2 separate regions of the Homo sapiens genome follow, and region 1 is linked to region 2. Evidence: promoter capture Hi-C in 16 types of primary human blood cells and fetal thymus (Javierre and others, 2016). All regions are on one chromosome and are shown on one strand. The core of a region is centred on a gene start or on the middle of the fragment in contact, and the rest is flanking DNA. Distances in the headings are between cores, read along the strand shown.

Region 1 (5,279 bases), core at 745-3,244, 2.6 Mb before region 2:
TGGCAAACAAGCACATGAAAACATGTCCATCATCACCAGGCACTAAAGAAATGCCAATTAAAACCATGATGAGACCAGGCGCAGTGGCTCATGCCTATAATCCCAGCACTTTGGGAGGCCAAGGTGGGTGGATCACCTGAGGTCAGGAGTTCGAGACCAGTCTGGCCAATATGGCGAAACGCTGTCTCTACTAAAAATACAAAAAATAGACAGGTGTGGTGGTGCACGCCTGTAGTCCCAGCTACTTGGGAGGCTGAGGCTGGAGAATCGCTTGAACCCAGGAGGTGGAGGTTGCAGTGAGCTGAGATGGCGCCACTGCACTCCAGCCTGGGCAACAGAGTAAGACTCTATCTCAAAACAAAACAAAACAAAAAACCATGATGATATATCACTATTCACCTGTTAGAATAGCTAAAAATTCAGGCAGGGACAAAATAAAATGCTGCTGAGGATGCAGAGAAACTGAATGTCTTGTACATTGATGGTGGGACAGTAAAAAAAAAAAAAAAGAAAAGAAAAGAAAAAAACTTCCAAAAGGTTATACATTGTATGATTTTGTTTATAGCAGATCAGTATACCCATCCTGCAGCTGCTATGAGTGTTGACAGCTAAACACTCACACAGCTTCCCCCTCGTCCAGAAGAATTGCCCTGGGCAGAAAGGAGGCTGCCTCTTGTTCCAGACCTTCACATTCCAGACCTCCCCATGGAGCCTCCACTGACTACATACTTGTTTCACTTTTTCTTCCTCTGCCCTATCATACCCACCACTCTCCTAAGAGTCTTCCTTCAATAAATCACAGGCACCTGTGTTACTTGTTGAAGGTGTCCAGGTTCTTGGCATCTTGAACAAAGAAATGGGCAAAATGCACAAAGCAAGGAAAGAATGAGGCAACAAAAGCAGAGATGTATTGAAAACAAAGGTACACTCCACAGGGTGGGAGCCAGCGTGAGCATAGGGGCTCAAGAACTCCGTTACAGAATTTTCTGGGATTTAAATACCCTCTAGAGGCTCCCATTGGTTAATTGGTGTACACCCTATGTAAATGAAGAAGATGAAGTGAAGTTGCTCAGTCACTTACTCAGTGAACGCCATATGTAAATGAAGAAAATATTTCCTGTCATAGCTGAAATGTGTCCATTTTATTTAGTTCTAAGAAGTCAGCGTGAATCAGCTTTATGTTCCCTGCCTGCAGACCCTATTCTCCTGCCTCACCTCAATCTCTTCACCTAAGACAGGAAGAAAACTGATGATGCAGGAGACGAAGAACAATAGCAAGGCGAAGAAATGAATCTCCAAGGCCGGCTTCAAGCGATTCTCCCCTCTCAGGCTCCCGAGTAGCTGGGATTACAGGCATGCACCACCACGCCTGGCTAATTTTTGTATTTTTAGTAGAGACAGGGTTTCCCCATGTTGGCCAGGATGGTCTTGAACTCCTGACCTCAGGTGATCTGGCCACCTCCGCCTCCCAAAGTGCTGGAATTACAGGCATGAGCCACCACACCCAGCTCCCAGTTCTGTTCTTTTAGAGGCAAATAGTCTGTTGAGTAAATGCATAACACTACTTAGACTTTCTAGCTGAAGATGTAGTTAATCTTAAGAAAACCTGACTCACACTGTAACAGGATGTTCTGCAATGACCTTAGAAGAGGAAGTGACTTTTTTCCCACTTTGGTGTCTCTTCCCTCGTACCCTCCCCACCCCGCCAATATTATCCAGCACAGAGAAGCAAACACCAGAAGCTTCTCTCCAACTTTCAGTTTTTCTCTAAACTTCCAGTCCTTCTCATACTGTGTCCTGGTTATAATAGTTGCTGGGACCTTATTCTATTCTGAATCCCCAGCCCCTAAAGAAGGCTTGGTACTGACGTGTACAGCGTAGTTACCCAGTGACTTTGGGGAAGGCAGGAAGAGTGTGGAAAGGACAGGAGGAAGGAAGGGAGGGGCCGTGGCTCCGAGCTGCCTAGAAAGCGGCTCCAGGGAGCCAGGGCACCGTGAGCCTGGTGGTTGGCAGCTGGAGCCACGTCGGAGGGGGAAGTGTCGCAGCATTCTCTGCAGGCATCACAGACCTGAGGCAGTGGCCTCCGGAGGGCACTGGACAGAAACAGCCATCCAAGTGGCTGAGTGGAGGGACCCTGCTCAAGTGCAGCTGCAGTGGCCGGGGTTTCCCTCAGGTAGGGATCGGGGCGCCTTGTCGCCGCCAGCCACGTGTGGCGTCCGGTACAGTCAGCAGAGTGCAGGGTGCGGGCACCAGGAAAGGGGGCGCAGGGGAACTCCCGCGGGCCTCGCGTTTGCAAACTTCTCGCCTGGGCAGGAGGCGGTCGTGGGAAAGAAGGTGGAAGAGCGAGCTTTTTGGAACTGTGCACGGGACAGATTGGACGCACACCCCTCGGGAGGCGCGAAGGTGAGCATGGGGTCTTCCCAGGAGGCGGCGGGGCCGAGGGGCTGCAGCCGAATTCCTGGACGGTGATGGGAAGAACCAGGGGTGAGGGTGGCCCGGTCCGAGTTCCTGGAACTCAGGACCGAGTTGGTTTCATTTCCTCAGCTCTGATGGTGGAGCTGCCTGCTCGGATCTCGCACTACCTTCCGCCAAAGCGAGACGCCCAGTAGCAGTGGGGGTCGTGGAGGGCAGGGGCACGGGAACAAGTTACCTGATGTCTTCTCAGAAAAAGGAAGTCTTCAGGTTTGCAGGCTGAAGGCGTGAGAGAGAGACAGAGTGAGAGAGAGAGAAGAGGGAAATGCCTGATAACCTTTACTTATTTTATTTTATTTTTATTTTTTATTTTTTGGAGGGAAGAGGTGAATTTGCATTGTTATTACCATTTAAAGATTTTTCACTTTTAAAATTAGTAACCTGTTTTCTCATCGTAACATATGAACATAATCCCCTTTTTCTTTTTATTTATTTATTTTGAGAGATGGAGTCTTCCTCTGTTGCCCAGGCTGGAGCGCAGTGGCACAATCATAGCTCACTGCAGCCTCCGAACTCATGGGCTCAAGTGATCCTCCAACCAGATCCTCCCAAGTAGCTAGGACTACAAGGTGCACATCACCACACCCAATTAAATTTTTTTTGTATTTTTTGGTAGAGCCAGGGTCTCGCTTTGTCACCCAGGCTGGTCTCAAACTCCTGGGCTCAGGTGATCCTCCTACCTCACCCTCCCAAAGTGCTGGGATTACAGGTGTGAGCCACTGCAGCTGGCCTGAACATATTCTTAGCTGTTTGTTTTACATATTATAAATAGCACTGCAGTGAACATCTCGGTAGCCATCTATCTACAAACACAAGCTTTTCTACATCATAAGTTCCTAGAAATTCAAATTGCCCAGTCTAAGTGTGTATATATGTATATTCCCTTTCTTCCCTTGTAGATCATATACTTAATAAGACCTTAAACAATTTAAGTTATTGTAGGGTGCTTTTTCCCAATATTTTGCAGTTTTTAATATATTTTAATTTCATACAGGCAAGTCCCCTTTTCTTTATTTTTTAAAATCCTGGTTATCCCTACTAATTTCCCATTTCAAATGAACTTTAGGATCATTTTGATTTAATGCCAAAATATGTCAGTAGATGTTTTATTGGAACTGCATTAAATTGGATTTAAATTTGGGAAGGATTGCTGGGTTGGTCTGTTTTAGTCTTCCCAGCCAGAAATATAACACTTCTCTTTCCTCCTTTCTTCAAGCTTTGTTTTGTGCAATTTTCTTTCTTTCTTTTTTTTTGTTTTTGTTTTTGTTTTTGAGACGGAGTTTTGCTCTGTTGCCCAGGTTGGAGCACAGTGGTGTGATCTCGGCTCAGTGCAACCTCCACCTCCCGGGTTCAAGCAATTCTCCTGCCTCAGCCTCCCGAGTAGCTGGGATTACAGGCGCCTGCTACCATGCTTGGCTAATTTTAGTATTTTTAGTAGAGATGGGGTTTCACCATGTTGGCCGGGCGATCTCAAACTCCCGACCTCAGGTGATCCACCTGCCTCGGCCTTCCAAAGCGCTGAGATTACAGGCATGAGCCAATGTGACCGCTGCAATTTTCTTCATACCATGCCACCACTGTATAATTTATTATTTGAAATTGTTTGTCAGTTCTATGGGTGGGATATTTTCCCCATTTTCCTTTCTGATTAGTTCAGTGCTGAGATATGGCTTTCTGATGAGGCTGCTGGTAAGATAACTGGAGCTTAGAGCTAGGAAGCTACAATTTGCAAGATTCCTTGAACAACATTGCCACATTTGCTTCTGTTTCTGGTGCAACAGAGAAAGTGTAAAACCTTTTGCCCTCACAATTCCCAAGAAATGGCCTTGAAGATATCTGCTTAGCACGTGGGAATAGCTGGGTAGTCTGAGATCCACTAGTCTTTTTAGGAGTGCCCTAATAACTGTTACCTCCCTTGCCCAATCACTGTAACTCTCAGGCAACAAAAACACAACTATATCGATTGCTCATTTATTTAGTTTCACTTCTGCCAGTGCCTTACTCATGTTTTAAAGCCATACTTGGGCTCCAGGCCAATTATTTTCTCCAAGCTGCTAATTAATCCATAAACTGGCGATAATACTTAACCTACCTATTTCACTGAGCTGTTAAAAAAAAAAAAACTAACTTTGTTTTTTGTTGTCGTTTGTTAGTGGTGGTGGTGGTGGTGTTTTTGAGACACTGTCTCATTCTGTTGCCCATGCTGGAATGGAGTCAGTGGCACAATCATGGCTCACTGCAGCCTCGACCTCCCAGCCTCAATCAATTCTCCCTCCTCAGGCTCCAGAGTAGCTGGGACTACAGGCAAGCACCACCACATCCAGCAAATTTTTGTATTTTTTTGTAGAGACAGGGTTTCACCATGTTGCCCAGGCTGGTCTCGAACTCAGGCTCATACGATCCCCTGGCCTCAGCCTCACAAAGTGCTGGGATTACAGGTTTGAGTCATGACACCCTACCCTAACTTTATTTTAAATACTTTGAAAACTGGTTCCATGGCCTTGTGATTATTTGAATGCAACCTCCCTGAACCGCAGCATCTTCACTTTTCACCTGTTTGTTTTTTCGAGACAGGGTCTCTCTGTTTCCCTGGCTGGAGTGCAGTGGTGTCATCATAGCTCACTGCAGCCTCAACCTCCCAGGCTCAAGCGATTCTCCCGCCTCAGCCTCCTGAGTAGCTGGGACTACAGGTCCCAGCTAATTTTTGTATTTTTAGTAGAGATGGGTCTCGCTGTGTTGCCCAGAATGGAACTCCTGGCCTCAAGCAATCTTCCCACCTCTACCTCCCAAAATGTTGGGATTACGGG
Region 2 (5,460 bases), core at 1,683-4,182:
CAAAATCAGTTTAATAACAATCCATGTTCACCAAAAATATTTATGAGAAACACCAGGTTAGGAAAAGGTGTTACTGAGAAGTATTTAAGTGGCTACAAGACTTCTGGCACTCAAGTTGGAACAAGCTCCTCTTTACCTCTCACTACACATCTGCCACTCATCAACATATATCAGTTCTGGATGCTTGGATAATTCCTCTCATTCCAACAAGTTAGCAAAGCAAAGGAGATGCCACCAGAATCCAGAATTGTTTACCAAACTCTAATTAAATGCACAGCTCTACAGAGTATTGCCAAACAGACTGGACACATAATATTAATGCAGAAACAAGAGTTACATTTTGAAAATGCCATCAGGCAGAACAGAAAAAAAGAAAGCTGCATATTGGTGACATCTGTGCGCATGTGAGGAAATCCACACAAGAAGGTAAAGATATACAGGCTCTACTCAATAGTTGTCTAAACTAGGAAAGGTACCCTGGACTGCCATTCTACGCAGTTGAGAGAACACTGGATGTGTTGTTGACTGCTGTAGCTCAATGTCTAGCAAAATAAGCGTTTGATAAATTAAAAAATGAATTAATTTAAACTTATTAAAGGAGGACAGGAACCCAAACATTTCTGGAGACAGCAAGGGAAGATTCCAGCAACACAGGACAAGGAGACAGCCAGAGAGAACTTCATTAGCTGCTGAGACGAACAAATAAGGAGCTAAAGAGCAAGATTCTTGAGAAGGATTAATGGCAAAGAAACTACAAGGCGTACGAGAAAGCCAGGGAAGAAAGAACCTGGATTCATTCATTCAACAATTATTCACTGAGGGTGTCCCTGAGCCAATTGCTGTTCTCGGCGATAGCAACAGAGAACAAGACAAAAATCCCCGCCCACCTGGAGCTGACATTCTAGTAGAAGAGATCGCCCACCAGATTGCCTGGTATAAATGACACTGTGAGAGAGCAGAGGAAGACACAAGGAGTCCTACTCGGGCTCGGTGACAGTCTGGGGTGGGTTAAAGCGGAGGCCTGGGAGAGGGACCAAGGCCACTCCAGGCAGCATCCCTGGATCTCAGCGAGGCCGCTCCAGGCAGCAGGATTTGACCAGAGCAAGGAGGAAGGCCAAGGCGGCCAGGACGGATGCAGCATCCCTGAGGTGAGTAAGGCAAGGTGGGTGACAGGGACGACAGAGGAACTCCCCAAACTGGGGCCCGGACCTGAGCAGGGGACCAATATCCGCCGCCTAGAGCCGCCATGATTACAGAAGGGCAGGCCAGGAAGGAAGAAGGGACTCTCACCTCACCAAGCGCGACTCTTGGGACCCTTCTGTCCCGGATTCTGGGGCGCCGGCGCTGCCACCCCTCGCTCAGACAGGCTCAAGGAGCCAAAATCCACACCTTGAAAGCGGCCATTATTGTCCCTTAATACTTTGCGCGCCCCCTCTATCCGCCCAAAGCTACCATAGAGAGCAGCCTGGAACACGCCCGATTCCTGGATCCAAGTGTGGAACGGTACGCCAACAGGCTCTCAAGGCCTCCTCTGGGGCTCTGATCAGACACTTCCGAGTCTCCTTGTGACCAATCACTCTTAGCCTAAGAGACTACATCCCGCCTCTAGTCTGGGGGCAGGAAAAGGAGGGGAAAAAGGTCGACCATCTTTAATACGGGCGGAGGTGACGCCTAGCTTCCGGTCAGAGCCGAGCAAGGTGGGCGGTGACTAGAAGCTCTTCCGTTTATTGGGCTGTTGAGCGGGGGCCGACCGACGGCCAGGAGTTTCTTTTCTGCGCTTGTGCGTTTTCTGTTCGGTTTCCTTCCCGCTAGCGGGGCCACGAGGGTTGCTAGGCAACAGCCCCTGGGTGACTTGGTCTTAGGGTCCTGTCCGGCTTGGGGCTGATGAAAGGAGCTGTCCGCGCCCGGGCTCTTCCGAGAAGTGGTTGCTGACAGCCACAAAGTGAAAGGGAGTGAGGCGGCGTGGACGAGTAAGGTAAGTGCTGGGGTCCCTTAGCGCTTGTGGGCCAGGAGCAGCGCAACACAGGTGACTTTAAATATGTATATCGGATATTTTGGAAAATGGAGATGCGCGCCCGGCTGTAAATAAAAATCACCCATGCGTTCACACGCAGAGATGACCACTGATTTCCAGTTGTTTTTCTGGAATACATTGTAGTAAGATTCTGTACAAAAGTGAGTTCAAGCTTTTTTTCTTTTTTTGGTGTTTCTGCAGTTGTGGCGCGCGCCTGAGGTTCCAGCTACTCGGGAGGCTGAGGCGGGAGGATTGCTTGAGCCTGGGGAGTTGAGACCAGCCTGGGCAACATAGCGAAACCCCGCCTCAGAAAAAGAGAGGGAGAGAGGAAAGCAGTGGAGTTATTGGTCAAAGAGTATGTCAGTTTTCTTTCCAGAAAGGTTTTGTGTCTGCATTCCAGCAGGAACTCCCTGTGCCTGCCCCTACCACTATCTTGTTTAATTTTTGCCAATTCAGTGACTTTGTAAACATATGTTTTAATTTGCTTTTCTTTGCTTACTGGTAAAGCTTAACTTTTTAGTTTATTTACTGTCCATTTGTACGTCTTCTTTTGGGAATTCTCTGTGGGTATCATTTACTATGGACATTTTCTTAGATGTGGTCTCAGTTTTCCTCTCCTGCTTCCAACGTTTGTCCAGTTGCACCCCTAGCCTCACCACTAACAACTTTGTTCTCCCCTTACTTTCTCCTTTCGATCAGTAACACGGAGGAACTGCTGTTTGTTTGAATTCTAGTGGGACAGATCCGTCTTCTCTTTGACCTTCCCTTTCATTGGTAATTTGTTCTGCTGCTCACATCTGATGACGTCCCTTTGGGCCATCAATGTCCCTGTTTAAAGTATGACCTATAGCTGGAACAATCTTATTTCCTATGTGAATTTTAGTTAAATAATTCCTTTTTTTTTTTTTGGAGACGGAGCTTCGCTCTTGTTGCCTTGCCCAGGCTGGAGTGCAGTGGAGCGATCCTAGCTCACTGCAACCTCCGCCTCCAGGGTTCAAGCAATTCTCCTGCCTCAGCCTCCTGAGTAGCTTGGATTACAGGTGGCATCTGCCACCACGCCCGGCTAATTTTTTGTATTTTTAGTAGAGACGGGGTTTCACCATGTTGGCCAGGCTGGTCTCGAATTCCTGGCCATAGGTGATCCACCCTCCTTGGCCTCCCAAAGTGCTGGGATTACAGGGGTGAGCCTGGCCTAATTCGTATCTTAAAATGTGACTTGTGACAAAAAAAATAGGAAAAGAAATCCTCCCTTTTCATATTTGGAACTGAATTCAAAATACCGACCATCTCAATGGAGTCTCTTATAGATGACCACAAAACTAAGCTTCTTTGTCAAAGAGTTTCTCAAAAATGAAATTTCTACCAATCATGAAAATAGATTATTGTAGTAGAAGGACCCCTGGACTAGAAATTTGGTGGCCTGTATTCTAGTCCTTGTCATTGTAGTAGAAAGTGCAACTGTAAGCAAGCTAGTTTGTAAAATGACGGGGTTGTATTAGGTCCCTTGTACCTCAGTATTTTATTATTTGTTTATGGTATTGTAGTTTTCACACACACTCTTAATTGATCTGTTTGCCGTGTAATGAGGTGCACCTAGTAAGGTGCACACGAAGAATCTTTAAGCCAGGACTTGTAATAATATAAAGTATACAATAAAGGACTGTTTAAAAAGTGTAACACATGCAAGAAATAATATGCTGCCATGACAGAGAATATGGATGTTCTCTATATAGAGATATGGGGCAATCTTCATAGGTTAGGTTTGAAATAATGAAAAGTGCTGAAGAGTAGATAAAGTGTGTGTGCTGAACATCTGCCATTGGTCCCTCCACAGCCATTCTTCATCCTCCTCTAGACTGCTCTGGGACAGGGAGGTTTGCCTGCCTCAACAGGCCCCTGCCCTCTGGTTCCAGTTGGAGTCAGCCGGTGGTTGCATGAGCAAAGGTCAGAGGGAGGGAGGAGAGTGGCTGCAACACCTAACAGCAGGCTGCCCTCCTATACACTGTCCTCTCCACTCACCTCTTTCTGCCACACAATTCTTATAACTGCTTCCTACCGTGGCTTCTTCCTCCCATGGCCTAGGGATGGGTACAGCATCCCGCTGTTACTAGCCCCAAAGTAGTACACTTTACCGTATTGTTTTTCTACACCTGCCTTAATTAAACTGCCTTCAAATTACCAAAGTTGAGAGTGTCATCGCTTTCCTGCTGGAACACTGATACAATAGGCTATCTTTTGGGGGTGGGGAGAGAGAGAAAAAAAATATCGGAACGCATATTTGTATTTTTTGGTGAATGCATAACAAAACTCTGAAAGATACATGAGAAACTAATGAAAGCAGTTATCTGGCCCGGGGGAGGGAACAATGAAAACTGGTTCCAAGGAGCAGGGACAAAGAGAGGGAAACTCCACAGTGTTACCTTTCTATGATGTTTCTTTCATACCATGTGAATACATTAGCTACTCTGTGAATTAATTTTTTTTAATGAGGGCTCACGCACTTAATCTAAACTGTCTTTAAACATTGCACCTTTATTTCAGGAGTGACAGTGAGGATTCACATTTGGGTTATTTCAAGATGAGCTTCCTACTGCCCAAGCTGACTAGCAAAAAGGAAGTAGACCAGGCGATAAAAAGTACTGCTGAGAAGGTGTTGGTTCTCAGGTTTGGGAGAGATGAAGATCCTGTCTGTCTGCAGCTAGATGATATTGTAAGTGAATGTCTAAAATAATTGGTTTTTATTAATAATCTGTATATTCTCACTTCAGCATCTGAGTAGTACATGAGAGGGAGTAGTCAGGGTTGGGTATATAGCTGTTCATTTGTTAGTTCACTAAGAGCTGATTGTGTGCCTGCCCTGAACCAAGCCCCCAAATCTGTGTGTGCTGAATCTGTCTTGGATGTCCTTACCCACTAGAAGCTGTCAATGCTGTTTCACCAACAAGGTGATGGAAGAGCAGAAAACTATTAACAAGCATCTGTGAACACTATCTTTTCAGTGCTCGCAATAGTGGGATAATAGTAGCCCCATTTCCCAGTAGGAAAAAAAAAACCAGAGAGGTCAAGTAATTTCCCACAGGTGCAGATCCACTATATTGCAGAGTTGAGATTTGAACTCAGTTTTCTGTAGCTGCAAATAATCTTTTCTAGTGTGCTGCCTCCAGTATGTGCCTGATGCAGAGAGAGACCTAACCCAGAACTAAGACCTCTTACCGCCATTTCTACTGCTACCATCCCGTGTAAGAGCTGAGCGTACAAATCCTCATTTCCGTGGTTACAATGAGGGTGTGATGTGTTAGCTTGGGGAAAAAAGGACCAGAGGATTCTACCCTCAGTCATAAGCAGGAGGAAATACCACAGAGGTCAGTGATGTAGACACTGAAGCCACACTGCCAAAGTTCAAACCCCAGCCCTACTGCTCAGGAGCTGTGTGACCTGGGGCAAAT

What was found. The method cuts DNA at HindIII sites, captures the fragments that hold promoters and counts their contacts. A CHiCAGO score of 5 or more calls a contact.
Region 1: the fragment with the promoter of MLKL here is called in contact with a fragment that was not itself captured in region 2 in 2 of 17 cell types (non-activated CD4 T cells and naive B cells); the score reaches 7.2 in non-activated CD4 T cells.

Annotation. Positions count from the first base shown.
Region 1 is chr16:74,697,577-74,702,855 of GRCh38, reverse strand. MLKL (mixed lineage kinase domain like pseudokinase) reads left to right here and starts at 1,994. Exons shown (of 11, transcript NM_152649.4): 1 at 1,994-2,403. RefSeq lists an enhancer at 2,091-2,540. The HindIII fragment of the contact is 1,546 bases long and covers 1,745-3,290 here.
Region 2 is chr16:72,089,882-72,095,341 of GRCh38, reverse strand. It overlaps TXNL4B (thioredoxin like 4B), which reads left to right and starts at 1,722. Exons shown (of 4, transcript NM_017853.3): 1 at 1,722-1,975; 2 at 4,556-4,724. The coding sequence starts at 4,593. DHX38 (DEAH-box helicase 38) reads right to left here and starts at 1,495. Exons shown (of 27, transcript NM_014003.4): 1 at 1,291-1,495. RefSeq lists enhancers at 1,200-1,499, 1,560-1,609, 1,620-1,949. The HindIII fragment of the contact is 817 bases long and covers 2,524-3,340 here.